Linked DNA regions of Homo sapiens: regions 2, 3 and 4 are each linked to region 1. Evidence: promoter capture Hi-C in 16 types of primary human blood cells and fetal thymus (Javierre and others, 2016). All regions are on one chromosome and are shown on one strand. The core of a region is centred on a gene start or on the middle of the fragment in contact, and the rest is flanking DNA. Distances in the headings are between cores, read along the strand shown. Region 1 holds the start of FAAP100 (FA core complex associated protein 100). Region 2 holds the start of CEP131 (centrosomal protein 131). Region 3 overlaps NDUFAF8 (NADH:ubiquinone oxidoreductase complex assembly factor 8). Region 4 overlaps SLC38A10 (solute carrier family 38 member 10).

Region 1 (3,666 bases), core at 438-2,937:
ATGGAGGATCTTGACAAGGGCATTTGGGTCACCAGGGGCTGACCTGGAGGTGACCAGGGCCTTCAGGATCACACAGCAGAGCTGGCCATCAGGGAGACCACAGAGGACCACAGGTGACTGCAGGAGGGTGGCATCAGCTCCAAAGAGGAGCCCGAAGAGGGCGTCCTCCAGCGTGAAGCCCCCGGAGCCCCCGAGGAGGTCGTGCGGGACCCTGGAGCCTGATGGTGACACAGAGCACAGCACTGGAAGGAAGTGGGGGGCTGCAGGCTTTCCTGGGACCCCGGCTGGGGGCGTGTAGGAGGACAGCTCCACCTCACCGATCTGGCCTCCTGGCCGGGGGTCCTCCCCAGGACAGGGCTGCTCAAACAGCTGCATCTTCCATCGGGCAGGGCCCTGCACCAGGGTGACCAGCACACTGTCCAGCAAGGTGAACGCGCACAGCGCAGCATCGGGAAGGATGCAGGCATCGGGGTCCACAGGGATCACGGGGGAAGGCTGGTCACCGTCCTCGCTGTCCCTGTCATCCTGGCTCGTAGACCTTTGAGAACAGGGACGCACTGGTCAGGCCTGGGCAGGGTGGGATTCCCACGTTCTCTTCACAATAACCTGGCATGGAGTAGTCTGGCTCAGGGGTTCCCGCAGTGACCCCCAAGGCCGCTCAGCAGTCCATCTGCCACATGGCCTCCCACCTTCCCCACGAAGGATACTCTTGACAAGAAGTACCAGGCATCCAAAACCAGCGTGAACCGACACCTGTCAGCATAGAACCGTCAGGCTGAGGCCCAGGCTGCAAAGTGCACAGGCTGCCCCCTCTACAGCCTGGGCCGCGGTCAGCAGCTGCTGGCTCTGCACTGAAGACAGGCCTGGCTGCCCGGAGCTCGCTTCCTTCCAACCCAGATGGTGTCCACTGATCACTGACTCGGGGTCACGGTGCCTTTGCTGTCTCCTCCCTCCAATAAAGACCCAACCTCGGGGGCGTGTCTCACCAGACAGCACCGGGCCACCAGGGCCCAAAGGACAGGATCCCGCGCCCCGCCGTGGGCTTAACCATGTGAACCCCACTTACTAAGGACTGTGAGCAAGACACTTGCAGAAAGAGTGCTGGGGGCAGGGGCTCCAGATAATCGGGCAGGGATGGCGGCCGAGGCTTCAGAGCTGGCGGCAGCCCGGGTCCCCAAGCGCGATGAGGTGGGGCTGCTCGCTCTGAAGCAGTCCGGGGGCAGCAGGAGTGTGCGGGAGGGAGGCCGCGGGCCCGCCCTCACCTGCTCCTGCCCGGGTGGTCCAGCGACAGGCAGTAGAGGCCCCTCCGGGCGCACAGCGCGTACAGCAACCTGCGCGGCGCCAGCAGCTCCAGGTGCCACACCTGGTCGGGGAACCGGAACGCCGCCTGCGGACCGGGGCGCGGGTCAGGCCGACGCGACGCGCGGGCCCGCGGTCTTCATTTTCACGCGAACCGCCGCCCCCGCCCGGTCCCTCCCGCCCCCGCGGGCCGGCGCTCACGGTCAGCAGCCCGCCCTCCTGGTCGTACACGTAGACGAGCTCGCTCCCGGTGGACAGGAAGACCTCTGCCTCATGGCACAGCACGCGGGGCTTGCCCGCCGCCAGGCCCCCGAGAGGGCAGCAGAAGCCCGCCAGGTAGCGGACCCGCGGCGCGGCGCCGGCCATCGTGCGCGCGGGCCCGTCAGAGTGAGAAGCCCCGGCCGCGCGGCGGCGGCTCCGCCTCGGAGCGCTTTACGGCAGCCCGCTGTGCGGCGCGACCTCCGCCGTAAAGCGGTCGGCGGTGCCGGGGGCGGGCCGGAAAGGACGCGCTGCAGGGACTCCGGGAGCTGGGGCGGTCGCTGGTACCCACGGGGAGCAGGGGAGCCTTCCTAGGGGCCGCGGCACCGTGCCGCAGGTCGAGGTTGACCCGGCCGGGCTGGTGGGAGCCCTCGGCGGCTTCATGGCCCCGGCTGCTGCACGGGTTCCCCAGGGTGGGGAAGCGGGTCCTGGCCGAGCAGAGGTTGCTCTTGGGCGGGGCGTCTCCCCGGAGCAAGCGCTCAGCTACTCGGGCTTTTGCGTAAACGCCTCGATTCTCTGGGCTCTCGGAGAGCAGCTGGGTCCTGCCGGAGCGCACTCCAGCCGGGGTCGGGGTGGGGCAGCGCCGGCTCTTGTCGTCCTAGGGATGGGTCTCTGCCCTGTGCTCTGCGAGCCGCCCCGGCCGCCCCCGCGTTCAGGGCCCAGCGGAGTGAGCCAGCTTAGGTGGAAGTGCGTCCCTCCCTCCGTGGCTGAACACGTGGGGACAGGGAGTACACCAATGGGGTTTCTGGGTTGGGGGCAGAGGACAAGAAAATGACTGTGAGCCAGGGCAAGATACCTCCACCCTCTCCCTCCTGGCAGCTCTCCACTTCCTCCAGGAGAGAAGTACTGACCAGAGAACGCCCGTGGAGGGGCCTGCAGTACGGACACCTGCTCCATGCCCGGAAGAGAGCGGAAACCAGGCACACCATTCACAAGTAAATGACCAAGGAACCCCGCCCCCGGCCCGCCTCCCTCCGTTTAAGAAGCCAATCTGAAGAGCGCTAAGGCCAGACACCCTCGAGGGAGAATCTAGGGGCAGGGCTGCAAAACTGGGCTTGGAAGTTAGGCAGACATCGTGGAGTCCGGGTGCACCTGCTGGAGCACAAAGCACCACTTGCAGACATCCTGACCGCCCCCCTTTGAGGTTGGGGTGGGGACTGACCCCAAGGCAACGGGGATGTCTGATTCTGAATGTTGGGTTAGACAGACTCAAGTGCGGCACCTGGAGTCAGTTCCTTGCTCCTCTCTTCTCGCCAGGGCTGCTCTGAAGGTGTTTGGGCTGGAAATGCTGTCTTTGATGCTGGGGAGTGGGGAGAGGAGGGCCAGGTGCATCTCATTTGGCCTTCAGAGTCAGGAAGTCAGATGCCGCATCGTTGTGAATTTCCCCACAGGGATCCTCCGCTGGTCTTCTGACCGAATTTCCCCACAGGAATCCGCAGGTCTTCTGACTGCTAGTTTTAACCCTCTGAAGCCTTGTGAGTCACTCGCTCACACACACCAACCCCATCCAGTCCTCCCAGGCCATCTCTTCCATACGGATGGTAACATGCCAAGACTGTCCTAGAGGAAATGATCACGATCACGTGGAGGAGGAAACGGACGTGGGAGAAGGCCCGCCAAACCAGCAGCCTCACCCCGCGGTTTACTCCGCTGCCCACCCCACTCTGCTCCGGGGGCTGGCAGGCTTTTGGCCCCACGCCAAGCCCAGCTCCTATCTGCAACAAGATTTATGATCAGTAGTCATGTGGGGGACCTTAAGCATGGATCCCAGGGGAAAGGGGGTGAGTTAGACACAAGCGAAGGGCTGAAGGCCGGCTCTCCATCAGCTGCTGGGCTGTGCCGTGCCCCACCTGTACTTGGCGAAGAGTGATGAGGGCTGAGGCAGCCTCTCTGTCCGTGGGTGTGGAAGATGCACACACTCCTAGCGGAAGCCTTCGAGACAGCAGCGCAGACCGCTGGACACTGCGTTTCTATGCCCAACTTGGAGGTGTTATCATCTCCCTAAGCACGAAGTATATGAAGGAGTCAATTTAGGTCAGACTGAGGGGAGAAAAACCATGAAGCTTCAGGCTGTGTTGAGGGCGAGGAGGGCTGGGCCTTGAGGGACCT
Region 2 (3,666 bases), core at 573-3,072, 330 kb before region 1:
AAAACGCGGGAGTGGTTTTGTGAGGTCCAGACAAGATGCTGGTCTCAAGGCCTCAAGGCTGCACCGGGCAAACACTCCCTGGGTAATGTGTTATTCCAGCAGGGGACGGGGGTTCTGACGATCGATCGAGGGGATTAGCTTGGGGATGCTGGCTTCCTTACTTTGGAACTTCTCAGAGCAAACCCTGCCGGCCCCCAGCCCGTCCCCACATGGCACCTCTTTCTGAACGAGTCTTTCTGATCTTTCTGAACGGGTCTCAGCTCGTGCATGTGCCCCTGCCAAAAACCCTGCAACAGCTTCCTAGGCACAGAGAATAAAGTCTACACATCCAACTCCTGCAAGATCTGGCCCTGTACTCTCTGTGACCTCGCCAGCTCCCCTGCTGTGCCCCTTTGTTGTGGCTTTAGCCAACACAGCCTCCCTGGTTCTCCTCAAACTCAGCCAGCTTGGCCCCGGCCAGTCCCCTGCCTCTAGGTCTCAGGACACTCCCTCCCTGCACTCAGAGGCCTTCCTTGAGCACCCATCACTCTTCACTCCCCATCCGGCTCGGACTCCCTTCCTGTGGCCGCACACAGTTGGTTTATGAATTGTGTGGCTCCTGAGCAACCCCAGCACCTGCAGGGAAAGGCACTCAGCTGAACCCGTAGATGAACGGGAGAAGCTGGCGCCAGGGACCAACCTCGAGAATTACCTCCCTGCCACGGTGGCCTCCAGTAGGCCAGCAGGCACCCAGCCTATCGCCCAAGGTCACCCTGGGCTTCCTTCAGCCCGGCACCCCACAGCAGGTCCCCCAAGGTCCCTTCCACGGAGCGATGGATACCCCTACTCCCTAGAGGCTGACCCTGCCACTGACCAGGTCCCAGTCCTCAGTTATGCACTTCCGGCTGTGCGGAAGAAACTTAACACCCTCCTCCTGCAGGGCACTGTCCACCCCTGGCTGGACCCATGCAAGCCCTTGGAGCCCAGGACTCTGCTCTCCCAGCCACACTTGCAAGCGGCTCTGGGATGGCGAACGGGGCCTCTCCATGGAAACCTCCAAGCCAGAAGAAGGGAGGCCTGGGAGGCCACTACATCTTGGATAAAACTGTGTCCCTCCCAGGACCTGAAGGGGCGGGGACTGATGACCAGCGCCAGGACCTGGTTCCCAGGGTGGGCTGACCCTGACCCTGACCCTGACCCTGGACAGAGAGGCCAGAGCCCACGCGCAGAGCAGAGCCCTCCACTTGTCCTCAGGGCAGCTCCCATCTCCCCATTTTCCCCAGGGCTTAAGGCAGCCGGGCCAGAGATGCCGGGACTGGACTCCATGTTGTCCTGGGGACCGGAGGGGAGTGGAGGGAGGTGGAGAGGGTGGAGGGGATGGAGGTGGGGACCCACACCCTCAGGCACGAGCCTGTCTTCACCTGCGCGGGCCCCGGACCTCCCTCACCTGTGCGCACCCTGGATCCCCCTCACTTCCCCCGGATCCCGCCTTCAATTGCGCGGGCACCAGATCCCCCCACTCACCTGTGCGTGCCCCGGATCCCCATCACTTCATCACTGGACCAGGGCCTCCCACCTGCGCGGGCTCCGGACCCCTCCAACCTCCGTGCGCCCTGCAACCCCCTCCCTTGCCCGGGCCCCCCTCACCTGCGCGGGCCGGGGGCGCAGCCGCGAAGCCTGCCTGGCGCGCGGGGCCTGCAGATTCGGCCGGCGGGGAGGGGATGCGGAACCAGTCGCGCCCAAACCTCGGGTCGGCGACCTGGCGCCCCGCCACCCCCAACACTGCCCCGAGGCCCGGTGACAATGAAGCGGCCGGACGGCCGGGGTGAGCAGCGGCGGCAGCTAGCAACCAGCCTGGCACCACCTCCCCAGCCCGTCACGCCGGCCCGCCTTTCCTGCGCGCGCCGACTCCGGATTGGCCCTTCACGCTCCCGCTCAGGCCGTCCCGGGAGCTCATTGGGCCGCTCGGCTGTCCTTCGGGAAGTTCAAGCGTGGGAGGAGCGGCGGATGGCTGAGGGACGCGACTACAGAGAGCGGCCGATTGGACGCGGCTGGAAAGGGGCGGGTCATATAGGGGGCGGGGGACCGAGGGCGGCGGGAGGAGCTGGCCGGGCAGGGGCGGGGCCCCAGCGGTTGTGGGCGGGGCGTGAGGTGGGGGTGTGATGGGCGAGTAGGGCGAGGCAGATGTGGGCGGGGCAAGGCAGGTGTGGGCGGGGCACGCAGGGCCTGGGGAGGAGACACCAGGGAGGGCGCGAGGAGCACGCGGCCTCGGCTCGGCTCCCCGACACCCCCAGGCCGCCGCACTCCCGCGGCCCGGGGCTCCCCCAGTGTCCTAGGCCGCTCTGTCCCCACCCACGTGCGCGACTCCCCTCGTTACTCAGTACGACTGCGAGGGCGTGTGGGCGCCTTGCTAACCTCCCTGACCTCCTTCCCTTCGCGCTGCTTTGTTGTTTTTTTTCCTTCTCCAAAGTTTTAACGCTGCGCCCCGTGCGTAGCCGCTCTGTGACTCCCCCTCTCTCCGGGAGCCCTGGGGATTCCGCCCAGGTCCTCTCCAGGGAAGCCATCCTTCCCCTAAAAGTCACAGCACACTGGTCTCCCCTGCCCCCGCTTTTTAAAAAGTCCAGTGCTCTGTAAAATAAAAAGTTTGGTTTCAGTAAAATCCACATTTTTTGGTGTGCAGTGGAGTTGTGTAACTTTAGTTACAGAACATTCTCCCTCCGGATCCCGTACCTGCTGACTGCTGGTGGCGGCTGCTCAGTTCTCTCTGTTCTCCATCCCTAGAGGCAGCCTTTTCCAGAATGTCACACAAAAGGGATGTCGCGCAGCGCGCCTGTGGGTCTGGCTTCTACCACTTCGCATTTTGAGATTCATGCTGGTTCCTCTTTATTGCTGAGTGGTATCCTGTAACCGGTGTGAACCACCGGTTCAGATGGTTTTATTTATTGATGGTTTTATTCATCAAATGAAGGACGCAGAGATTGTTCCTGGTGCTTGGCAATTATGAATGACGCTGCCATAAACATTCACTCATCGGCTTCTGTGTGGACACAACTTTTCATTTCTCTTGTGTAAATACCCAGGAGTGGGGTTGCTGGATCAAATGATTGTTTATAAGAAACTGCCGGCCGGGCGCAGTGGGTCCCACCTGTAATTCCAGAACTTTGGGACACTGAGGTGGGCGGATCACCTGAGGTCAGGAGTTCGAGATCACCCTGGCCAACATGGCAAAACCCCGTCTCTAGTAAAAATACAAAAAAATTACCCGTGCCTGGTGGCGTCTGCCTATAATCCCAGCTACTCAGGAGGCTGAGTCAGGAGAATCGCTTGACCCCAGGAGGCAGAGATTGCGGTGAGCGGAGATCACCACTGCACTCCAGCCTGAGCGACAGAGCAAGACTCCATCTCAAAAAAAAGAAAAAGAAAAAAAAAAGGAAACCGCCAAGCTATTTTCTTTTTCTTTTTTTTCCTTTTTTTTCCGAGATGGAGTCTCCCTCTGTCGCCCAGGCTGGAGTGCAATGGCATGATCTTGGCTCACTGCAAACTCCACTTCCTGGGCTCAAGCAATTCTCCTGCCTCAGCCTCCCGAGTAGCTGGTATTACAGGCACATGTCACCATGCCAGGCTAATTTTTGTATTTTTAGTAGAGACAGGGTTTTGTCATATTGGCCAGGCTGGTCTTGAACTGCT
Region 3 (2,928 bases), core at 429-2,928, 310 kb before region 1:
AGCTGTTAATCCGGAGATTTGGACCAGAGAAAGGGTATTTGAACAAGAGTTCCACGGCCTTCATCCCTACCCGGCCCCAGCAGCCTTGGATCCAGGGGTGGACAACTCATCAGAAGTTGCACTTTTTGCTGGGTGTGGTGGCGCGTGCCTGTAATCCTACCGCTTTGGGAGGCTGAGGTGGGTGGATTGCTTAGGCCTAGAAGTTTGAGACCAGCCTGGGCAACATATGGAGACCCCGTCTCTACAAAAAAAAAGAAAAAAAAAATTAGCCAGGCATGGTGGTGTAGTCCCAGTTACTTGGGAGGCTGAGGTGGGAAGATCACTTGAACCTGGGAGGTGGAGGTTGCAGTGAGCCGAGATCACGCTGCTGTACTCCAGCCTAGGCAACAAAGTGAGACTGCATCTCAAAAAAAAAAAAAGGGGGGGGGCTCCTGCTTTCCCTCTATGAGAGCTTGAGACCAAATGTGGCATCTCGTGGGGGCTCAGAGGAGGGGGCAGCAGTGAGTTCTGTGATAGTGTCATGAGGCCCTTGTCCCGTGGACAAGTGACCCAGAGAACCTGCCCATGGGGCCCCAGGCTCCAACCAGTCGAGCCCCCACCATATGCCAGCACCCAAGTTCTCTGTAAGGTATTTGGTAGAACACAACGTGTGGTGTGGTAGCTTGCTTTTGAGGCGTATCTAACTTGGAAGCAAGCCATTCAGACAAAACACTTTATCTTGCAGGCCAAGAAGACGCTGGAGGGAGGCTGTTAGGAGGGACTCTGAGCTTCACACCTGTCTGCTGCCATGGGTGCAGAGCCCTAGTCCTGATGGCCCCTGGTGGCACATATCGAATGCCTAGGGCAGAAAGGAAGTGGGAATGGCGAAGATGTGACATTCCTCGGTGTTAGATCCTGTTTTTTCTTAACAAGTTGAGGCGTGGGTAGAGCAGGAATTGGTTTTCCAGCATTGTGTCCGTAAACCTGAGTTAGAATAAGATGTAACGGAAGCCACGATAAAGACTCGGTCAAATCCTGCAGCCTGGGGCTTACTGTGTGCAGACTGCAACATGTGGGTCTTGGCCTCTCTGAGATGGAATGGGGCCCAGAGCCTTTCCCCCAAAGCTGGCAGGGCTGGGACTTGGGGACACCCTGCCTCAAGGTCCCCGTTTTAAAACACTCTCACTAAGGTATTTAATGTGAATCTGGTGAAGCCTGCAGACCTTGCTGTGGGTATACAGCACACACCAAAGACAAGGACGTCAGCACCACGAGGGGACACTCCATGGGGCAGGGTCCTCGCAGGTGGCTTTCCTGGACACGGGGCAGGGCGGAGGCTCTTCACAAAAGGGCCTGAGTCTCCGAGAGGGGCCTGCGTAGAGCACCAGCAGCCAGTGCCCCTCCTGTGTGGGGTTGGTCGCCCCCTCGGCAGCCCAGGTACTTCACCGATGGCGCCTGCCCTCTCGTTCCCCCTCCCTATCACATCACTTGACCTAAAACTAAGGTGAGAAGGGCCACATCCTGACTCTGCCCGGGCACTTGTTGATGGTGAGACCCCGGAGTCCATGGGGCCTGAGCGCCACCTGCAGGGCGTGGCGGGGACTGCTTTGAGAGCCCCCCTGCTCCGGGGTGCAGAGGCTGCACTTTCCTGGGGCTGCAGCCTGCGCCTGCCCCCAGGCCCGTGCTAGCGGCTGACCCCGTGGGCTGAGGTCTGTTCCTCCATGTTTCCTCCTCCAGATGCTGCCCCAGAATTAACCTGGTTTCCCCTAAGGGTCTGATCTGGGTGGTGGGTCTGCAGGAGCCAGGCCAGAGTGCTGGATTTTGTCCCAAGGGCCAGGATAGTGTCACATCTTGGGAACCACGGAAATCCAGACCAGACTCCTGGGGTCAAGCCACCGCAGTCCATCCCTGTGCATGCCAGACTCAGATGCCCTGCGCTGGCACAAACCACCCGACCCGCCTCCCCAGCGTGCAGGGCCGGCTGCCCCCCACCCCTGCCTTCCTCCTTCTTGTGCCCAGCACTCATCCATGAGCGAGCCTCAGTGTGCAGACGTCCTTTTCTTAGCCCTGTCACGCCCTCTCCGTTCTCTGGCAGCTCATTGGCAGAGCTTCCTGCATCTTCTCCCTCCAAATCCAGCCTCCCATCCCACCCACAGACCTGTCTTGCCAGCACTCCCCCTCGCTGTCCTTCACCCTGTGTGTGAGGTGGTGACAGACCTGCCACTTCCTGTGGCCCAGCGTGGCCCACACCTCCAAACTCAGCTCTCAGGCCTCCGGGGTACACCCTCTTTTCTGCCACCCCAAATTTCCTTGCAAACCTCCCACCTTTGCTCTGCCCTTCCTCCCTGAGTGACTGGATTTCAGCACCACATCGATTGACAGCTCAGGAAGCTGGGCGGGTGGGGGGGGGGGAGGCGGGGGGGAGGGGGAGGGGAGGTTGTGGGGGTTCTGCTGTTTTCGCACCGCAGGGACAGTGTGGAGCTCTAACTGCTTCAGGTGCCCTTGGGCCGTCCCTGCTGCCCTAACAAAGCACCTGAGACTGGGTGATTTACAAAGAACGGCCTGATTTTTCACAGCTCTGCAGGCTGCGAAGCCCGAGATCCAGGCATTGGTACTGGTGTCTGGGGAGGGCCTTTGTGCCGTGTCCTCACACTGCAGAAGGCGGAGGTGCAGCCTCTTTTATAAGGCTCTTAATCGTACGAGCGAGGAAGGAGCCCTCGGCCTAGTCACCTCTTGATACTGTCACTTAGGCAACTCCTGAATTTTGGAGGGGACACATCAAACCACAGCAAATGCCTTGGCTCTCAGGAGATACCCAAAGTTCTTTGAGGGCTCAGCTCCGCTCAATCCGTCCCTGGGCCAGCGTGCTGCGCAAGTCTGTTCCCGCGCAGAAGTACACACCGGCGACGGGACAGCGCTATCCCTGCTCTGGAACTGAGCCCCCAGAGG
Region 4 (3,666 bases), core at 781-3,280, 280 kb before region 1:
GCGACAGAGCGAGACTCTGTCTCAAAAAATAAAAAAAGAACAAAACACTTGGTGGCAAATGTATCTTTTCGATTCCCTCAGGGCCGACCTATTTTCCTGTCCCCTGGTTGATCTTCTGAGGACGAGCTGGAACATTCCTTCTTTTTCACGTCTTTCTCCAGCACAGCCTTGATTCACCTACTACACAGGTGTCCCCACTTCCCTGTCCACCCCAGCATATCACCAGTTGTGGCTCTTCCTGAGGTCCCTGGGCTGGGTACAGGCACCATATCGCTGAGAGTACTCAGACAGGCCAAGGCACAGATCCAGGCCTGTGCCCCTCCGTGGGCGCAGCCGGAGCCCCTGGGACAGTGGCCACGCCGAGATGTGGCGCCACAGGCCCAGGGTACGGCCTTGCGGTGCTGACATCTCCGTACCTAAGGAAACAGGGCATGCTGAGCGGATGGCACACGGTGGTCCGCTGGCCCCACGACCTACTGCGGAGCCGTAGGAGCGCTGGGGACAGGACGCACCAGACCCAAGTCAGAGGGAAAAAGAAACCTCTCCGTCTCCTCCACGCACAGCCAAACTGCGGTGAATGTGATTCAGTGCGCTTTCTAGCTTCCAAAAGACATGGCAAAGCAGGCACAGAGAGATGCTTCTTTCACCCAATTCTGTGTGTGTCTACACATGTCTACACACCAAGTCAAAAGCCGACACTGGGCTAACGGGTAAACACTAGAAGCCATCCCAGAGTCAGTGACGCGCCAGCCACTCACACCAGCAGCGCCGTGGCCACAGGTGTGTGACGCCACACACGGGCAAGAGAGGAGGAAGCGCTGCAGCAATTGGAAAGAGGGAGGCGACATCATCATTAGCTGCAGGTGAAAAGCCAAGAGATCCAGCAGGAGTACAGTAAGGTGAACGGGCGAAAATGTCACCTATGAAATCTCTAACTTCCCTTTACACAAACAGCCACTTAGAAAATCCAGGGGGAGGGCCGGACGCGGTGGCTCACGCCTGTAATCCCAGCACTTTGGGAGGCCGAGGCGGGCGGATCATGAGGTCAGGAGATCGAGACCATCCTGGCTAACATAGTGAAACCCCGTCTCTACTAAAAATACAAAAAATTAGCCGGGCATGGTTGCAGGCACCTGTAGTCCCAGCTATTCAAGAGACTGAGGCAGGAGAATGGCGTGAACCCAGGAGGAGGGGCTTGCAGTGAGCAGAGATCGTGCCACTGCACTCCAGCCTGGGCGACAGAGTGAGACTCCATCTCAAAAAAAAAAAAAAGAAAAAGAAAAAAAAAGAAAATCCAGCGGGAAAAGAGATCCCAGGATAGCATGCAGTGCAGCCAACAGCCACCTGGGAAACAGATGGGAACGAAGGACCTACAGTGAGGTCTGGATAAACCAAATGCAGTGCCTTCCTGCTGAGCAGGAGAGTTCGCAAGGACATCTGCACATCAGCTACAGTGTAAAGACGGCAATTCCCAAGTTAATCTATAGTTTCAATAAGCCCAGTTAGACCAAAAAATAAAAAGCAGGACTAATTTTTTGTTAGAGTCAGATGGGCTGATTCCAACATTCATACAGAAAATAAAACAAAGACTATGCAGAAAATGTATTATTAACAGCCAAGAGGCGAGATGAGAATTAAAGTGTTCCAAGAGCAACAAGTCACAACTCCGTGAGTGTTACCAGGGTGTGGCAACTAACACGCAACTAACATGCAACTAACATGCAACTAACACAGTACGGAAGGGCAGACCAGCCAATAAAGTAAAACACAGGTCCCAAGTTAGGCCCGAATACATATAAGAATTTAATCTACAATAGCACTAACATTTCCCATCAGTGATGGATTATTCAATAAATCATGTCTGACGACTAGGGAACCATCTAGAAATAAACTGAGGATACATACTTTGTTTCTTACACCAAAATAAAATACAGGTAGATCAAAGATTTAAATTAAAAAAATGAAGTCATTAAAGTACTAAAAAAATGAGGGAGGAATTATTTTAAAATAATACTGGAGTGGGGAAATTCTAACTATGGCCCTCCCCCTCCTTCTTCTTTTAAAATAGTACTGGAGTGTGGAAATTCTAACTATGACTCTTTCTTTCCTTCCTTCCTTCCTCCCTCCCTCCCTTCTTTCTTTCCTTCTTTCTCCTGCTAACTCACAGAACAGATGTTTTTTCTAAGGAAGCCCAATGGACTAAAACATGGGACCTGGCATAGCAGGACATGTGCCATCTGATGAGCAGAGGCTGAGGCTCTCATGCTATCTTAAGCTCCTAAAACTCACCAAGAAACTTCCTCATCAAGCTATGGCATAATAGCTGGTATCAAACTGGTCTTCCTATTTAAAACAATGGTAAAAGCTGAATAAAAACAATAAAAACACCCAACCAAAGACACTGGTAAACAGCTCTGTCAGCTCAGACTTGAGAGGTCCAGATCCCAGAGGACAGAGAAAAGCCCTTAGTCACAGAGAGGTCAAGCCTGTTGCCCTTGGAGACTCATCGATCATTGGGACTAAGCAGACAAGACAAGAGAGCACAACAGCCTAGAGCCTGGGCACACTCACAGGGCTGGGCACCGAGAAGCAAGAATGAGGGCGCTCCAGCAGCCAGAGCTCGAGGGAGAGAAGGAAACCTCGGAGAAGGACGCCACTCCACATTCTGTGTGCAAAAATCTCCCCCAAAGCACTTGCCAGCTATCAGCTATGCAGAGAGGAGCCAGCAAGATGATGAACGCCAAGCAGAAGATGAACGCCAAGCAGAAGATTCACCATTTGAGGGTGTCACTGCCCAGCTGAGACCCCAGAAGGGCTGTACCCTAGGAACAAGGCCAACTGAAAACACATTTGCCTCAATGGGACACAGGCCTTCTGCCTATCCCCTGTATGATGGATGAATGACAATGTCACCCAGAACTTCTACGATTTCTCAAACACAACATCTGCAAAATACCAGGCACACTAGAAAACAAGACCCCAGGACAAAAAAACAAGAAGCCACAAAGAATCAATATCAATACTTTTTTCTTTTTCTTCTTCTTTTTTTTCTTTTTTTTTTGAGACGGAGTCTTTTGCTCTGTTGCCCAGGCTGGAGTGCAGTGGTGCTATCTCGGCTCACTGCAACCTCCACCTCCCGGGTTCAAGTGATTCTCCTGCCTCAGCCTCCCAAAGTGCTGGGATTACAGGAGTGAGCCACCATGCCTGGCTCAATAATTACTATTTGAAACAACAATAACAATGTCTTGTGGAGTTTTAAATAAGGGTTGATATCAACTGCCTAGTATAATCATTAGAAGAATAGAAATGTACCAACAAGCCAAAAAAAGAGTAAATATTTAAAATGTTTGATTGATCCAAAGAAAGTAAAAGCAAAAACAGAAAAAGGACATATGAGACAAATAATAGGACATAAGTTGAAAGTTTTCCCTCAAAAATCAGTTATTATATTAACTGTAAATAGTCTTAAATACTCCCATTCACAGACTGAATAAGAACAAGACAAAAGTCAACTGCATGCTGTTATAAGAGACATACCATGAATATAATGGACTAGAGAAATCAAAAGAAAAGGGATGAAACAAGCTATCCTGTGCAAATACAAACCCAAAGCAGAACTAAGTTAGCTACAAAGCCAACTTTAAGGAGAAAAGTATTTCCAATGAT

What was found. Contacts are between HindIII fragments. The CHiCAGO score rates a contact against its expected background, and 5 or more counts as called.
Region 2: the fragment with the promoter of CEP131 here is called in contact with the fragment with the promoter of FAAP100 in region 1 in 9 of 17 cell types (monocytes, activated CD4 T cells, naive CD8 T cells and 6 more); the score reaches 8.2 in monocytes.
Region 3: a contact is called between a fragment that was not itself captured here and the fragment with the promoter of FAAP100 in region 1, in 1 of 17 cell types (fetal thymus). The highest score is 5.4, in fetal thymus.
Region 4: a fragment that was not itself captured here is called in contact with the fragment with the promoter of FAAP100 in region 1 in 1 of 17 cell types (monocytes); the score reaches 5.9 in monocytes.

What each region holds. Positions count from the first base shown.
Region 1 is chr17:81,550,666-81,554,331 of GRCh38, forward strand. FAAP100 (FA core complex associated protein 100) reads right to left here and starts at 1,688. Exons shown (of 9, transcript NM_025161.6): 1 at 1,501-1,688; 2 at 1,263-1,387; 3 at 1-538. The coding sequence starts at 1,665. It overlaps LOC124904085 (a long non-coding RNA gene), which reads left to right and starts at 1,694. Exons shown (of 2, transcript XR_007065947.1): 1 at 1,694-1,841; 2 at 2,377-3,666. RefSeq lists silencers at 1,255-1,354, 1,415-1,654, 1,795-1,954, 2,535-2,614, 2,625-2,694 and enhancers at 2,095-2,214, 2,744-3,319. The HindIII fragment of the contact is 8,658 bases long and covers 1-3,618 here.
Region 2 is chr17:81,221,143-81,224,808 of GRCh38, forward strand. It overlaps CEP131 (centrosomal protein 131), which reads right to left and starts at 1,823. Exons shown (of 26, transcript NM_014984.4): 1 at 1,627-1,823. RefSeq lists enhancers at 184-854, 855-1,524, 1,525-2,194 and silencers at 1,556-1,885, 2,046-2,415. The HindIII fragment of the contact is 19,797 bases long and covers 1-3,666 here.
Region 3 is chr17:81,240,263-81,243,190 of GRCh38, forward strand. NDUFAF8 (NADH:ubiquinone oxidoreductase complex assembly factor 8) reads left to right here. Exons shown (of 3, transcript NM_001086521.2): 3 at 725-1,048. The coding sequence ends at 754. Among named protein-coding and RNA genes, the nearest start is that of NDUFAF8, 2.4 kb to the left of the region's middle. RefSeq lists a silencer at 2,167-2,461. The HindIII fragment of the contact is 3,989 bases long and covers 1-2,928 here.
Region 4 is chr17:81,265,361-81,269,026 of GRCh38, forward strand. All of the region lies in intron 10 of SLC38A10 (solute carrier family 38 member 10), which reads right to left. Among named protein-coding and RNA genes, the nearest start is that of NDUFAF8, 28 kb to the left of the region's middle. The HindIII fragment of the contact is 8,831 bases long and covers 1-3,666 here.